4 separate regions of the Homo sapiens genome follow, and all the other regions are linked to region 2. The links are contacts of gene promoters, found by promoter capture Hi-C in blood cells and fetal thymus (Javierre and others, 2016). All regions are on one chromosome and are shown on one strand. The core of a region is centred on a gene start or on the middle of the fragment in contact, and the rest is flanking DNA. Distances in the headings are between cores, read along the strand shown. Region 1 holds the start of ZNF256 (zinc finger protein 256). Region 2 holds the start of ZNF17 (zinc finger protein 17). Region 3 overlaps ZNF418 (zinc finger protein 418). Region 4 holds the start of C19orf18 (chromosome 19 open reading frame 18).

The links. Contacts are between HindIII fragments. The CHiCAGO score rates a contact against its expected background, and 5 or more counts as called.
Region 1: the fragment with the promoter of ZNF256 here is called in contact with the fragment with the promoter of ZNF17 in region 2 in 14 of 17 cell types (non-activated CD4 T cells, naive B cells, naive CD8 T cells and 11 more); the score reaches 10.1 in non-activated CD4 T cells.
Region 3: a contact is called between a fragment that was not itself captured here and the fragment with the promoter of ZNF17 in region 2, in 3 of 17 cell types (total B cells, fetal thymus and non-activated CD4 T cells). The highest score is 6.1, in total B cells.
Region 4: a contact is called between the fragment with the promoter of C19orf18 here and the fragment with the promoter of ZNF17 in region 2, in 1 of 17 cell types (naive CD4 T cells). The highest score is 5.2, in naive CD4 T cells.

Annotation. Positions count from the first base shown.
Region 1 is chr19:57,946,251-57,949,495 of GRCh38, reverse strand. It overlaps ZNF256 (zinc finger protein 256), which reads left to right and starts at 1,790. Exons shown (of 3, transcript NM_005773.3): 1 at 1,790-2,054. The coding sequence starts at 2,022. RefSeq lists enhancers at 1,552-1,641, 1,712-1,811, 2,302-2,381. The HindIII fragment of the contact is 12,388 bases long and covers 1-3,245 here.
Region 2 is chr19:57,409,506-57,412,800 of GRCh38, reverse strand. It overlaps ZNF17 (zinc finger protein 17), which reads right to left and starts at 1,640. Exons shown (of 4, transcript NM_001330617.2): 1 at 1,395-1,640. RefSeq lists a silencer at 941-1,143 and enhancers at 1,387-1,446, 1,527-1,636. The HindIII fragment of the contact is 5,033 bases long and covers 466-3,295 here.
Region 3 is chr19:57,921,509-57,924,785 of GRCh38, reverse strand. It overlaps ZNF418 (zinc finger protein 418), which reads left to right. Exons shown (of 6, transcript NM_133460.3): 5 at 1,497-1,594; 6 at 2,157-2,904. Among named protein-coding and RNA genes, the nearest start is that of ZNF417, 6.6 kb to the right of the region's middle. The HindIII fragment of the contact is 3,803 bases long and covers 1-3,277 here.
Region 4 is chr19:57,972,440-57,975,822 of GRCh38, reverse strand. C19orf18 (chromosome 19 open reading frame 18) reads left to right here and starts at 1,289. Exons shown (of 6, transcript NM_152474.5): 1 at 1,289-1,511; 2 at 1,620-1,724; 3 at 3,319-3,360. The coding sequence starts at 1,391. The HindIII fragment of the contact is 7,599 bases long and covers 1-3,383 here.

The sequences.
Region 1 (3,245 bases), core at 541-3,040, 540 kb before region 2:
CTGTGTGCACTGGCTGGACCCTTCACTTGCTCGCTCACACACCCCTTGCGGCTCCGCGCCTGGCTCGCCCTTGGTAGGTGTGGGATCCAGGTGCAGCCTGCTGGGCCGAGTGGGTGGAACAAGCCCAGCGGGTGTGAGCAAAACTCAAGCAGAGGCGCGACCACAGAGGTTTCTGGCTGGCGAAGCGACACCCATTATTAGTAGCTTTCTGTAATTTGTATTTTACAATTCTTTTTCTGATATCGTATCAATTTTTTATGCAGAACAGCCCTATAATAATGGGGGCAAAGGGCCGGGCACAGTGGCTCACGCCTGTAATCCCAGCACTTTGGGAGGCCGAGGTGGGTGGATCACCTGAGGTCAGGAGTTCGAGACCAGCCTGGCCAATATGGCGAAACTCCGTCTCTACTAAAAATACAAATACAAAAAAAAAAAAAAAAAAAAAAGATTAGCCGGGTACGGTGGCGGGCGCCTGTAATTCCAGCTACTTGGGAAGCTGAGGCAGGAGAATCGCTTGAACCCGGGAGACAGAGGTTGTGGTGAGCCGAGATCGCACCATTGCACTCCAGCCTGGGCAACAAGAGCGTAACTAATGGGGGCAAAGATAATCATTTCAGCGTTGAGAAGAGATCTTGAATTTAAGATACACCCTACATTTGGGATTCAGAGCACCCTTTGTTCCACCTGTTAATGCTCTAGCTAGCCATCATGCCTTTTCAAAATACCATTCCTTTTGTTGTTCTCTTTCTGAGCTTGATGTCAAATTATTAAAAAGAAGTGAATATAAAGGCATGGAGAAAGTGAGATTAGATTCATGCAAGTGTTGCTTAGTGAATTGGACACAATGTTTGACTACACAGGCACGAGAGGGACCCAGAGACAGGGATCTACTTATGTCCTGCTGCTGCAGGGTGCCTCCGCATCCCACCTTCATCCTCTTTGTCATGAACCTGTGTGGAGTGTTTTTTTTCTTGTCCCTAATCAAACATACAGAGACTGAGAAAACTGACTCCAGTGCTTGAGTGCATGCGTTTGAATTGCAACATAGTCTTTTTTTTTTTTTTTTTTTTTTTTTTTTTTTGAGACAGTGGCTCGCTCTTTCCCCCAGGCTGGAGTGCAGTGGCGCGATCTCGGCTCACTGCAAGCTCTGCCTCCCGGGTTCAAGCTATTTTCCTGCCTCAGCCTCCGGAGTAGCTGGGGACTACAGGCGCCCGCCACCACACCCAGCTAATTTTTCTTTTTTTTTTTTTTTTTGTGGTATTTTTTGTATTTTAGAGACGGGGTTTCGCTGAGTTAGCCAGGATGGTCTCGATCTCCTGACCTCGTGATCCGCCCGCCTCGACCTCCCAAAGTGCTGGAATTACAGGCGTGAGCCACCGCGCCCGGCCGCAACATAGTCATATTTATTTGCTTTCTCAACCAGTGGATATATTTTGTGACTGACTGACTGTATGTAATAATATGTGCATCTGGATATGTGCCTCTGGGAACACATGAAATGACACGTCTCCAAACAAACACTGGCAGACAGCAATCGGTAGAAACCTGGGTACGTCTCCTTTAAGAAAGAACGAAGCCTCGCCTCCGCCCCAACCTGGAGTGTCCATTTCCCAGCGCCCCCTACAGGGGTTTGGCCTTTACTTCCGGAAGGAGGTGGAGGCGACCCTCACTCTCCCGCCGTGCGCCTGTGGGAACATTACCCAGAATGGCCTGCGTTGGGCGACGGCGACCTTCAGCCAATGAGGCCTCCGAAAGGTGGTGTTTCCGTAAGCGCACGCGCGGTCGCGGCGGGACTTCCGTTGTCCTCCTTGTGGCGGTCGTTTTGGCATTTGTCTGGACTGATTACTTGGTAGAAAGCCCCGGAGCGCTGGGTCAGCATCATCCGTGACTGACTGAGAAGGCGCGAGAGGAGTCTTCCCCGCTGCACAGAGGCGTGGCTGAGGCTCGGCGGCGCCCAGGGTACCCAGGCCCGGCCCGGAATAAGGACATCCTCTCTGGCCCCGCTCCGCTCACAGAGTCAGATGGCGGCGGCCGAGCTGACGGCCCCGGCCCAGGTATGTGCCGCGTCCTCTGGGCCTTCCCCGCCCTCCCCACGCTAGTCCTAGCACCCCCGAGGGCGCTTGCTCGCGGCCCTGCTGCCCAGGACAGGACACGGGGGCTCGCCGGAGGGGCTCCCGTTTCCAACACCTGGTGTGCTAGGGAAGGGAGGGCGCGACTGGCAAGGAGCCCCTGATGAGAGGCGCCACTGAGCCCTGGGGCACAGAGGTGACACAGCCATTGCGAGGGCACCCGGCTCCAAGGCCAGGCATGGGGCTACGGGGTGGCTTGAGCCCATCTAATACCGCCATAGATGCTCTTCTCTGAGGCCTGGCTCTTTCTACGTTTCCCTTGGCTGTAAAGGGTTATGAAATCTACGCCAGGAAGGGGAGGGTTTCCCAGTCTCTCACTAGCCCTAACTCCCACCCACAGGTTCTCTGGGTTGTGGAGTGCCATTCCCCCAGCCCTTAGTTCTGAAGACCTTGGGTGAACCCCAAGCCCAGGGTCCTATGTCCATGTTAGCCGGTATATAGAGTTGTTCCAATTTCTGGCAGCCATGTGAACGGGTGTGGAAAGTTTTTCCAGAAAGGTACAAGATGTGCAAATGCTTAGGTGCAGTACGGAGCTGGGTGCATTTATGAAGCCACAAGTCTCCTTGCTTTCTGGTGGGAAGCAAAGAACAGGAGGATAGGCGTCAGGACTGCAGTGGCTGCCTGAGAAGTTGAGTGTGTTTTCAGGAGGTAATAGCAAGTTTGAATCAGAAAAAAGAGGTAATTTACCAAGGTCTTCACAGGCTTCATCTGTGTGCACAGTGGGGCACAAACTGGGGGGTTGAGGGAGGAGGAAGGAAAATCAGGGTAGACTAGTCCAAGTGAGGGTTACTGGCCCAGGATCGTGATTTAGGAGATGTGGTTAGATTCCGGATGTGTGGTTTCAAAAGGGACAACTAAATTACATAATGTAGGTGGTGAGGGAGTGAAACAGAGGGTTCAGAGAAGACTCCAGGGTTTTTGGTATTAGCAGCTGTAGGGAAAGAAGTTTCATCAACTAAGATGAACAAATTGGCAATAGGAGTAATATTCACTAGGGATATCAGGTTTGTTTATGCCATGCTAAGAGTCAGATCTTTCAGAGCCTACTAAATGGAGGCGTTAAGTGGGCAGATGAACGTGCCGGTCTTGAAATCTAGGGAGTGGTTCAGGGTGCAG
Region 2 (3,295 bases), core at 391-2,890:
GTACATATTTAGAAGGATACTGGTTCATTAGTGGTTAAATAAATGTTTTATACATTCGGCCGGGCGCGGTGGCTCATGCCTGTAATCCCAGCACTTTGGGAGGCTGAGGCGTGCAGATCATGAGGTCAGGAGATAGAGACCATACTAGCTAACACGGTGAAACCCCGTCTCTACTAAAAATGCAAAAAATTAGCCTGGCGTGGTGGCGGGCACTTGTAGTCCCAGCTACTCGGGAGGCTGAGGCAGGAGAATTGCTTGAACTCGGGAGGCGGAGCTTGCAGTGAGCCGAGATCGCGCCACTGCACTCCAACCTGGGCGATGGAGCGAGACTCTGTCTCAAAAAAAAAAAAAATGTTTTACACATTCATAAATAAATAAGTTGCAGGGAGGGGATAAGCAAGCAGGTCAGTTACTGGTCCCATCAGCAACCAGGCCTGCCTGCTACAAATTCAGTTGCTGGAAGCTTGCTGGAGGCCCTTGACTAGATGTGAGAAAGCCCTACCCCCGTCTGGACCCAATGTCCCCACTAGTCTGGATGACCTTCCTATTGTTCCACAGAGTGGGCCTGGGGGGCTGCTGGGTCTGCAGGTGCAGAAATCTAAACCACCTCACACCTCAGTCTCCAGCCTAGGCCAGTTCCTTAACCCATTCAGAACTCCGTTTTTGCAGATATGAGCCAGAATCCCTCCTATGACAGGTCTGCGCCTTTCTAAAGGTAGCGTCAGGCTTATGGACCCACCCATGATCTGCCCTCCAAAACTCAGCCCTCCAAAATGCAACTCATAATCCTCTCTGAAACCTGCTCCCTAAGCTGACTTCTCCAACTCCATTCTTTCAGATTTTCAGGCCAAAACAAAATCCATGGAATAGACCCTTCACTACCCTCACTGCTACATTTGATGCAGCAGGAAATCCTGTCGACTCTATCTCTGAGATCCATCCAGAATCTCATCACACTTCCCCTCTACTGCAACCCCTCTGGCCCATCCCTACCATAACTCAAGGGGTCTCCTCAGCGGTCCCCTTGTCCTGGTTTAACATCCTGTTTTTCCCAACTTTAAACGTCTACCTCTGGGCATAACCCTTCCTGCACAGCCTTCTACGGCTTTCAGCAGCTCCGCTGCCCTCCCAGGCGAGACTCCGCCTCACCCTCAGCTCCGTGGAGACAAAGACGCTCGGGCTCCCCAGTGCCGCCCGCTCTGCAGCACCTCTAAGCCTCGCACGTGCAGGTCCCTGACAGGAGCTCCCCCGCCTCACAGCACCGCGGACACCGGTACCCCACACAAGAACGCTCCTCTCTTTGGGACACAGGGGCCTGACCTGCAGGGCCCCTCCTCGGGGCTTCGGCACTCGGAGGAGGGATCGGGCGGGGCGCCCTGGGACGCGGCACCCACCTCAGTCAGGTTCATCGGCGCAGCCTCCGCCAGCACAGCCAGGGAAGAGCGGGGCGGGAGCGGCAGTGACCTGGACGCTGACAGAGGCACCAACGCCTGCAACCGATTCAACCGAGCCTCACTCTAGCCTCTGTACAACGGGGAAACCTTTTCTCGCGTTTTTCCGCTTTTTCACCTCAGTCTCGACTCAGCCTGAAGGTGAACAGATCCCAACGCAGCCATATTGACAACCCCAGGAGGCGTTGCAGGAAGTCCCGCCCACACGCATTGCGAACCCCCGTAGACGCCGCTCTGCTAGGCCTTCATTGGCTACACTCGCTGCTTGTGTCCGCCGCTGTGTCTTTTGGGTAATGTAGTTCCCAGGCCACTGCCTGCCCCGCTTCTGAACTTAAGTTAACTCGCGTTCAGGATGAAAGCCAGGAGGATCCTCCTGAGGCTTTGAGAAATGCAGTTGCGGGGCTCCAAGGACGTGGAGGGGCTTCATTGGCTTTTAAACGGCAAGCATCCAGATTTTCCCGGAAGGCAGTCTAGAACAAGTCAGAGAAATGTTTCAGAGACCTGTCCTTTCAGATTCTGTAAAGCACAGCAAGTTCCCAAAAGACGAACATCCGAAGGAACATGGCCAACCATAAAGAACTGGTCTTCCACGCATAGCGGTCAGCTCTTTTGTGCTTGCCAAATACACACAGAACGAAGCTCTGGAGACTGTTTTATGATCTTCAATGTGCTCTGCTGGGCACATTGAAAAGACCCAGACATGGCATGATGGGGAGTTTGAGGAGTAATATCTTTCCTTTCTGAATAATCAGTTATTGTCTTTCAGCCTACCCAGCAACACTTTATTCACATGATACTTATTACTTTATATCTGAGATATTTTCCACTTATTTTAAGAGACTGAAACCTAACTGAAAAGGAAAAGCGACTTATCTACCATTATCTGCCAGAATAGTGTGGCCTTCCACCAGTCAAAGCCCTTGTGCAAAGAAAGCATCTTACTCCTGAGATAAAGGTTTGGGAATGCATGATCTCATCTCATTAGTGGAAAGTGATTTATCATTTCGCCTGAAATTGTATCAACAGTGTCTGCACAGGGAGTTGAAATTGTCTCTGAATAACTCTTGTGAAATGGCTATTACTGAAACTATTAATGACGATTATGTAGATATCCAAAGAAAGTGGCAAAAATAGTTATAGAGAAACATATTTGTGATAGGAGGAAAAAAGCTAAGGTTGTCCTGGAACCTTGGACACACTCAAGTTTGGTGTCCAAAATCTGATTCTTTTTCAAACTTGAAAACATTGTGCATTAACAGCTTGAAGGGAGAGGTAAAGACTATATATTAAAAGAGTTACCAGAAAAGTAAAGCTGAATAGGGAAACTGTGCTGTCGTATTTATTACTCTAACATATTTGATGAACACTCATTCGATGCCAGGTACAATACTAAGTGCATGGGACACATTAGGAGTAGGGTTGCTAGCTGTCTGTGGTCCTCTAAGACACGTAAGACGTATTTAATGAATTAGTCCTCAGTCCTGTATTGACCTTGTCAGGTCACTTTAAATGTCCTGTATTCCGCTTTTTACAATAAATTACAAAACCTCAGAAGTTAGAGCTATTTTTCTACCACTATAATTGTAAATTAAATCACTTAGCAGCTATGTTAGCTGAAAATCATACCCCCACAAATAAAGATATGGACATAGTCTTGTGATCTCTCCTGCAGAATTGGTGAGGGAAAAATAAAATGGAGCACTGAGATATTCAGTAAAGGAGAAGACTGTTTTTTGGCCAAAGTCTTGAAATTTGGTTTATCAAATTACAAAAAGAAGGAAGGAAGGAGAGAGAAAGAAGGAAACGAAAGGAAAAGAAAAAACCACCCAACTGAAGGTCTGGAA
Region 3 (3,277 bases), core at 360-2,859, 510 kb before region 2:
GATGCTTCTGAGATCGACACGAAAATTTCCTCTCTTTTACAAGGGATATTGCATTCTGCTCAGTACTGCTGAGGGAAATCTGTTCCCTAGGTCCTGGAATGCAGCCATGTGCTCTGATATCCAGAGTTTCGTAGTGTGGTGTCCCAGGTTATGAGATTATAACAGGAAGTCATAATTTATAGAATTTCTGCATTTATAGGCAGTGGAGGACACTGCAAGAACAGAGTTGGAATGCACGTCATCCACATTGATTCAGTTACTATGTATGTGGTGGACTGTCAGGTACAGAAATTCTCAGAACCTCCATAATTATGAATCTTGTGTAGCTGAGGCCATTGTCAAAGGAAATAATATAAAGGATTCGTGGATTCCTGTACCCTTTCTCGGCTGTTCACCTCAAGGCAATTCCTGCATTGGCAGGAGGAAGAGGATAGGGAGAAGGGAGATCTCTTAGTCCAGTGATGTGGTCTTTGTGACCAACCAGTGTTCCAATTTAATCAGGTGAAAATGGCCTTCCTGGCTTATCAGTATTTGCTGCCGCAGAGACTCATTGCTGCACTTAGGACATGAGGAGATTTTGTATAGTTGTCAAGCATGTTTGTCAAAAATAATAGAAAATCCATGTTTTTCTTTTTTTTTTTTTCTAAGACAAGGTGTTGCTCTGTGACCCAGGCTGGAGTACAGTGGCGAGATCATAGTTCACTGCAGCCTCGAACTCCTCAAGCAATCCTTTTCCCTCAGCCTCCCAAAGTGCTGGGATTACAGGCCTCAGCCATCATGTCCAGCCCACATTTTTCTTTTGAATCAATTCTTTAAAGCCATAATAAGGAATAAATGACATTCTGTAAACTATACATATTTAAACTGTACCATGTGGTAAGTTTAGACTTTCATAGAAACCCATGAAAGTGGCCAGGCACGGTGGCTCACGCCTGTAATCCCAGCACTTTGGGAGGCTGAGGCAGGCGGATCACGAGGTCAGGAGATCGAGACCATCCTGGCTAACATGGTGAAACCCCGTCTCTACTAAAAAAATACAAAAAATTAGCTGGGCGTGGTGGCAGGCGCCTGTAGTCCCAGCTACTCGGGAGGCTGAGGCAGGAGAATGGAGTGAACCCGGGAGGTGGAGCTTGCCGTGAGCCAAGATCGCACCACTGTACTCCAGCCTGGGTGACAGAGCAAGACTCGGTCTCAAAAAATATATATATATGTGTATATATGTGTGTGTGTGTGTGTGTGTGTGTGTATGTATATATATGTATATATGTATATATGTGTGTGTATATATGTATATACATGTATGTATATGTATGTATATATGTATATATATGTGTGTATATATGTATGTGTGTGTATATGTATATATATATATATTTTGCATCCCTTGGCATAAATGGGTTAGGTAAGTGTGTCACTAAATAGAAAAATACTCCCGTCTGCAATGAATTAGAAAGTTGCTTTTGATTCTTTCTTAATTTTTTTTGTTTTTGAGACAGAATGTCCGTCTGTCTGCCCAGGCTGGAGTGGCACGATCTCAGCTCACTGCAGCCTCCACCTCCAGGGTTCAAGCGATTCTCCTGCCTCAGCCTCCCGGGTAGGTGGGATTACAGGCATGCACCACCATGCCCGGTTAATTTTTGTATTTTTAGTGGAGATGGGGTTTTACCATGTTGTTCAGGCTGGTCTTGAAGTCCTGACCTTGTGATGATCTGCCCGCCTCGGCCTCCCAAAGTGCTGGGATTTCAGGCATGAGCCATAGTGCCTGGCCCTTTTTTTTTTTTTTTTTTTGAGACAGTGTCACTCTGTTGCCCAGGCTGGAGTACAGTGACACAATCACAATTCACTGCAGCCTTGACCTGCTGGACTCAAGTCATCCTCCCACCTCAGCCTCCCAAGTTGCTAGGGACAGGCATGTGCCACCACGCACAGCTAATTTTTAAAATTTTTCTGTAGAGATTAGGTCTCACTATGTTGCCCAGGCTGCTCTCAAAACTCCTGAGCTCAAGGGATCTTCCCACCTTGGCCTCTCAAAATGCTAAGATTACAGGATGAGCCACTGTGCCTGGCATGCTTTTGGTTTTTTTCTTGCAATTTAACAAAGTGGTGTCCCATATATTTAAGTATCAAATGTATAACTGAATTTTCTTTCTTTTCAGGGATCTCAAGGGCATTTCCCTTTGCCCACCTCACCTTTTCATATTTGGTAAACTGTATGCATTTGCCTCCAGCCCAAGATTATAAATATGAACTGATTATGATCTGCATGTTCTCTCTTTGGGTTCAAGCATTTCCTTACAGAAGAGCCACCGTGGAAGTCATGGGTAAATATGTGTTGAATTGGTAACTCCCTCTTGGAGAATTTCTTGTGAATTACACAGCAATAGGGGAACTCATTTAACTGGAGACATAATCTCAATTTGTAAAGTGTGGCCCATTTTCTAACATTTTTATTTTGCATACCCTCCCCTCTCTTCTCGATTGATGAAACTAACAAAGAGGTTAATAAAAGCCCATCTCGTCATGTACAGGGACTCATGCCTTTAATTCCAGTGTTTTGGGAGACTAAGGCAAGAACATCCTGGAGGCCAGGAGTTCGACACTGTATAACAGATATATCTGACAGCAGTAACTCAAGCACACCCTAAGAATGACCCTGTGGTCTAAGAAGAGTGTTGGTTCAGCGTTCCAAACGAAGAAATCCAGGAGTGGCCAACCTGGAGGTTTCTGAACCCCTGGCCTGTTCCTTGGAATGAGGCCCTTTGTTTTGAGCTAGGCGGAGGGTGATAAGTGAAAATACTATATAAACTGCATGCTTCTTTCAAATGATAGTGGTTTTTTTGTCCAGCCTGCCGCTCCTGGACTGCCCTGTATCTAAGTCCTCAATAAACCCTATGTCTCATTTTCTTTCTTTCTTTCTTTTTTGAGATGGAGTTTCGCTCCTGTTGCCCAGGCTGGAGTGCAGTGGCGTGATCTCGGCTCACTGCAACCTCCACCTCCCGGTTCAAGCGATTCTCCTGCCTCAGCCTCCCAAGTAGCAGGGATTACAGGCATGTGCCACTACACCCGGCTAATTTTGTATTTTTAGTAGAGACGGGGTTTCTGCGTTTTGATCACGGTGGTCTCGAACTCCCAACCTCAGGTGATCCGCCTGCCTTGGCCTCCCAAAGTGCTGGGATTACAGGCGTGAGCCACACGCCTAGCTCTATGTCTCATTTTCTAGCTCTGGCTCTCATTCAGTTCTTGGACATGGTGCCATCCTTGTTGAAGTCAACAGGGT
Region 4 (3,383 bases), core at 40-2,539, 560 kb before region 2:
CGAGACTGGCCTGGCCGCCAACATGGTGAAAGCCCATCTCTACTAAAAATACAAAAATTAGCTGGGTGTGGTGGCAGATGCCTGTAATCCCAGCGGTTCCAGAGGCTGAGGCAGGAGAATCGTTTGAACCCAGGAGGTGGAGGTTGCAGTGAGCCAAGATTGTGCCACTGCACTCCAGTGTGGGTGACAGGGCAAGACTCCATCTCAAAAAAAAAAAAAAAAAAAAAAAAGGGCCTCCTGTTGGTCAGGTCACATCACGAGTCAAAAGAAAGTCCCAGACTTCTGCTTCTTCCTGGAAGTATTCCCTTCCTCTCACCTATCATGCACAGCCTGGACAGTATTGATTTCAGTGGTCCCTAACATCCAGCACTCCCAGGTCCCCTCTGTCTCCCTCATACATGACATAGTTCATTGCCTTTTTTGAGCCCGTCTTCTATTCCTCCCATCTCTGAAGCCTAGGGCCCACTTTCAGTCATCAGGAGTCCCCCTTTACCTTCCTGCTGTGGGTCTCCCCTGTGCACATTGCCTCCCTTCTAAGGGTGACTGCTTTCCTTCCACTTTCTTTTCTTTCTTTCTTTGTGCAGTGGTACGATTTTGGCTCACTGCTACCTCTGCCTTCTGGGCTCAAGTGATCTTCCTGCCTCAGCCTCCCGAGTATCTGGGACTACAGGTACACGCCACCATGCCTGGCTAGTTTTTGTTTTTGTGTTTGTTGTTTTATTTTTTTGAGACAGAGTCTTGCTCTGTCGCCCAGGCTGGAGTGCAGTGGCATGATCTCAGCTCACTGCAACCTCCACCTCCTGGGTTCAAGTGATTCTCATGCCTCAGCCTCCCAAGTAGCTTGAACTACAGGTGTGCACCACCACGCCCAGCAAATTTTTGTATTTTTAGTAGAGATGGGCTTTCACTGTGTTGGCCAGGCTGGTCTTGAACTCCTGGCCTCAAGCGATCTGCCCACCTTGACCTCCTAAAGTGTTGGGATCATAGGCGTGAGCCACCGTGCCCATTCCTTTTTTCCTGAACATTTTCCAAGTGAGGTTGTTGGAAATCACGGATGGGGAACTATGCATGCGGAGGGCTGACTGTAATTGATTTCTTTCTGCCTCCTCACTAATCTGCACACTGCAGGCAGGGACCTGGTCTCATCATGCCTGCACCTCCAAGCACTGCCCTCTTACACTGTAGTCTCCCCATTGGTCAGCATGGTTCCATGAAGGAACTCCATTATCACAGCAAGGACTGACCTCACACTGGTGGCTCCAAGTCACTGCCCAAACATTCTGAAGGGAGTAGAACTTCTTGATTCCTCAGATAAATAGAGGACAGATGCTGGACTGTAGCTAAGTATTTCCTTTCATCTACGGGATAAAATACTGATAATTTGAGAGTGATGGACAAGGTTCAGAGTGGTTTCCTCATTTTGTTTTTGTTTTTAATGGAATGCCAACTTCATTTATGCTTGCCGTATGCAGATGGACTCCATCCCACTGGAAACATAACAGGCTTACCAGGTAGCTTCAACCACTGGTTTTATGTGACTCAGGGAGAATTGAAAAGCTGTTTCAGGGGAGATAAAAAGAAGGTAATTACATTTCACCGCAAAAAGTTTTCTTTTCAAGGCAGTAAACGGTCACAACCACCCAGAAACATCACCAAAGAGCCCAAAGTGTTCTTTCATAAAACCCAGTTGCCTGGGATTCAAGGGGCTGCCTCGAGATCCACGGGTGAGTCATTGAATTCCTCATTCAGTGGAGTGAGAATCGTAGCCTGGAGTCCTCTTATCTGCCATGTGAATGTGTACTGTGTGCTTGCTGGTAGAAAGGTCCATAAAATAGAGTATAATTAGATAAACATTTGCTTGGAAATTAGATCTTATGCTCTTCACTCTCTGTTAACTGCTTTCTCTTTAGGGATTGCCACTTTCTTCTCTTTTTCATTTCACTTTAATAAGCGCACACAAAAACCTTGATCCCATCCAGATTACACAGGTATGCCTGTCTGACTTGAATTTGGTGCACATTTGGCAGTAGAGCATGCAAGTCTAGACACAGAAGGTTTGTGAGTGTACAGAATTCTTTTTTTTCTTTTTTTTTTTTTTGAGACAGAGTCTTGCTCTGTCGCCCAGGCTGGAGTGCAGTGGCGCGATCTCGGCTCACTGCAAGCTCCACCTCCTGGGTTCACACCATTCTCCTGCCTCAGCCTCCCAAGTAGCTGGGACTACAGGCACCCGCCACCACGCCAAGCTAATTTTTTGTATTTTTAGTAGAGACAGGGTTTCACTGTGTTAGCCAGGATGGTCTTGATCTCCTGACCTCATGATCCGCCCGCCTCGGCCTCTCAAAGTGCTGGGATTACAGGCATGAGCCACCATGCCCAGCCGAGAATTCTTTATAAGCATTTTCTATGGTTCCCTTCTAATTTGAGTACTAGAGGATGTTTGTTTATCTTATAACAGCAAAACCAACCCCGACAATCTTTGAAGCTCAGCAACCCTTTGTGGAGATATATGATGCTTGTAAATAATCTCCATTCCATGCAAGGGAAATGCTGTCTGTGTGATACATTTGCATGTAATTTGTGTCCGAGGAAAGGACACTATTGTTGGTTCCCTGGCCTCTCTGCCTGGCTCTCTGATCCTTTTTTTTTTTTTTTTTTTTTTTTTTTTTTTTTTTTTTTTGAGACGGAGTCTCACTCTGTCACCCAGCTGGAGTGCAGTGGCGCAATCTCGGCTCACCACAACCTCCACCGCCGGGTTCAAGCAATTCTCCTGCCTCAGCCTCCTGAGTAGCTGGGACTACAGGCGCGTGCCACCATGCCCAGCTAATTTTTGTATTTTCAGTAGAGACGGGGTTTCACCATGTTGGTCAGGCTGGTCTCGAACTCCTGACCTCGTGATCTGCCTTCCTCGCTGGGATTACAGGCATGAGCCACTGTGCCCAACCCTTGCTGACCTTCTAATGAGGTCGTAGCCCCTTCAACTCTAAGTCTCTCCAGGTCCTTAATTTGGGCAGAGATTTCCCAACTTGTATGACTGCAAAAGGAGACCAGAAACCAAAAGTATCCTGTTCCTAAAGGTCATTCTTCATGACAGGAAGCACCAGGTGCAAAAAGAACAGCAGGCTCACCAGGCTTCTGCAAATTAACCCACACATTGCTGCCAGGCATTGGGAGGAATGTATTAACACATCCCATCTTAGATATTTGGAAGCTGTGTGTTCGGCGTCCTTCTCTAATGCTAAGTTATTTCCTTGTTTTCCCAAGTTCATCTTAAACCATCTTAAAGTCTCTTCTTTTTGATCCCCTTTGATGGCCTTTTAGCTGCATCCCCTACGAACCCCATGAAATTCCTGAGGAATAAAGGTAAGCCAAGGGATCTGGGAGGG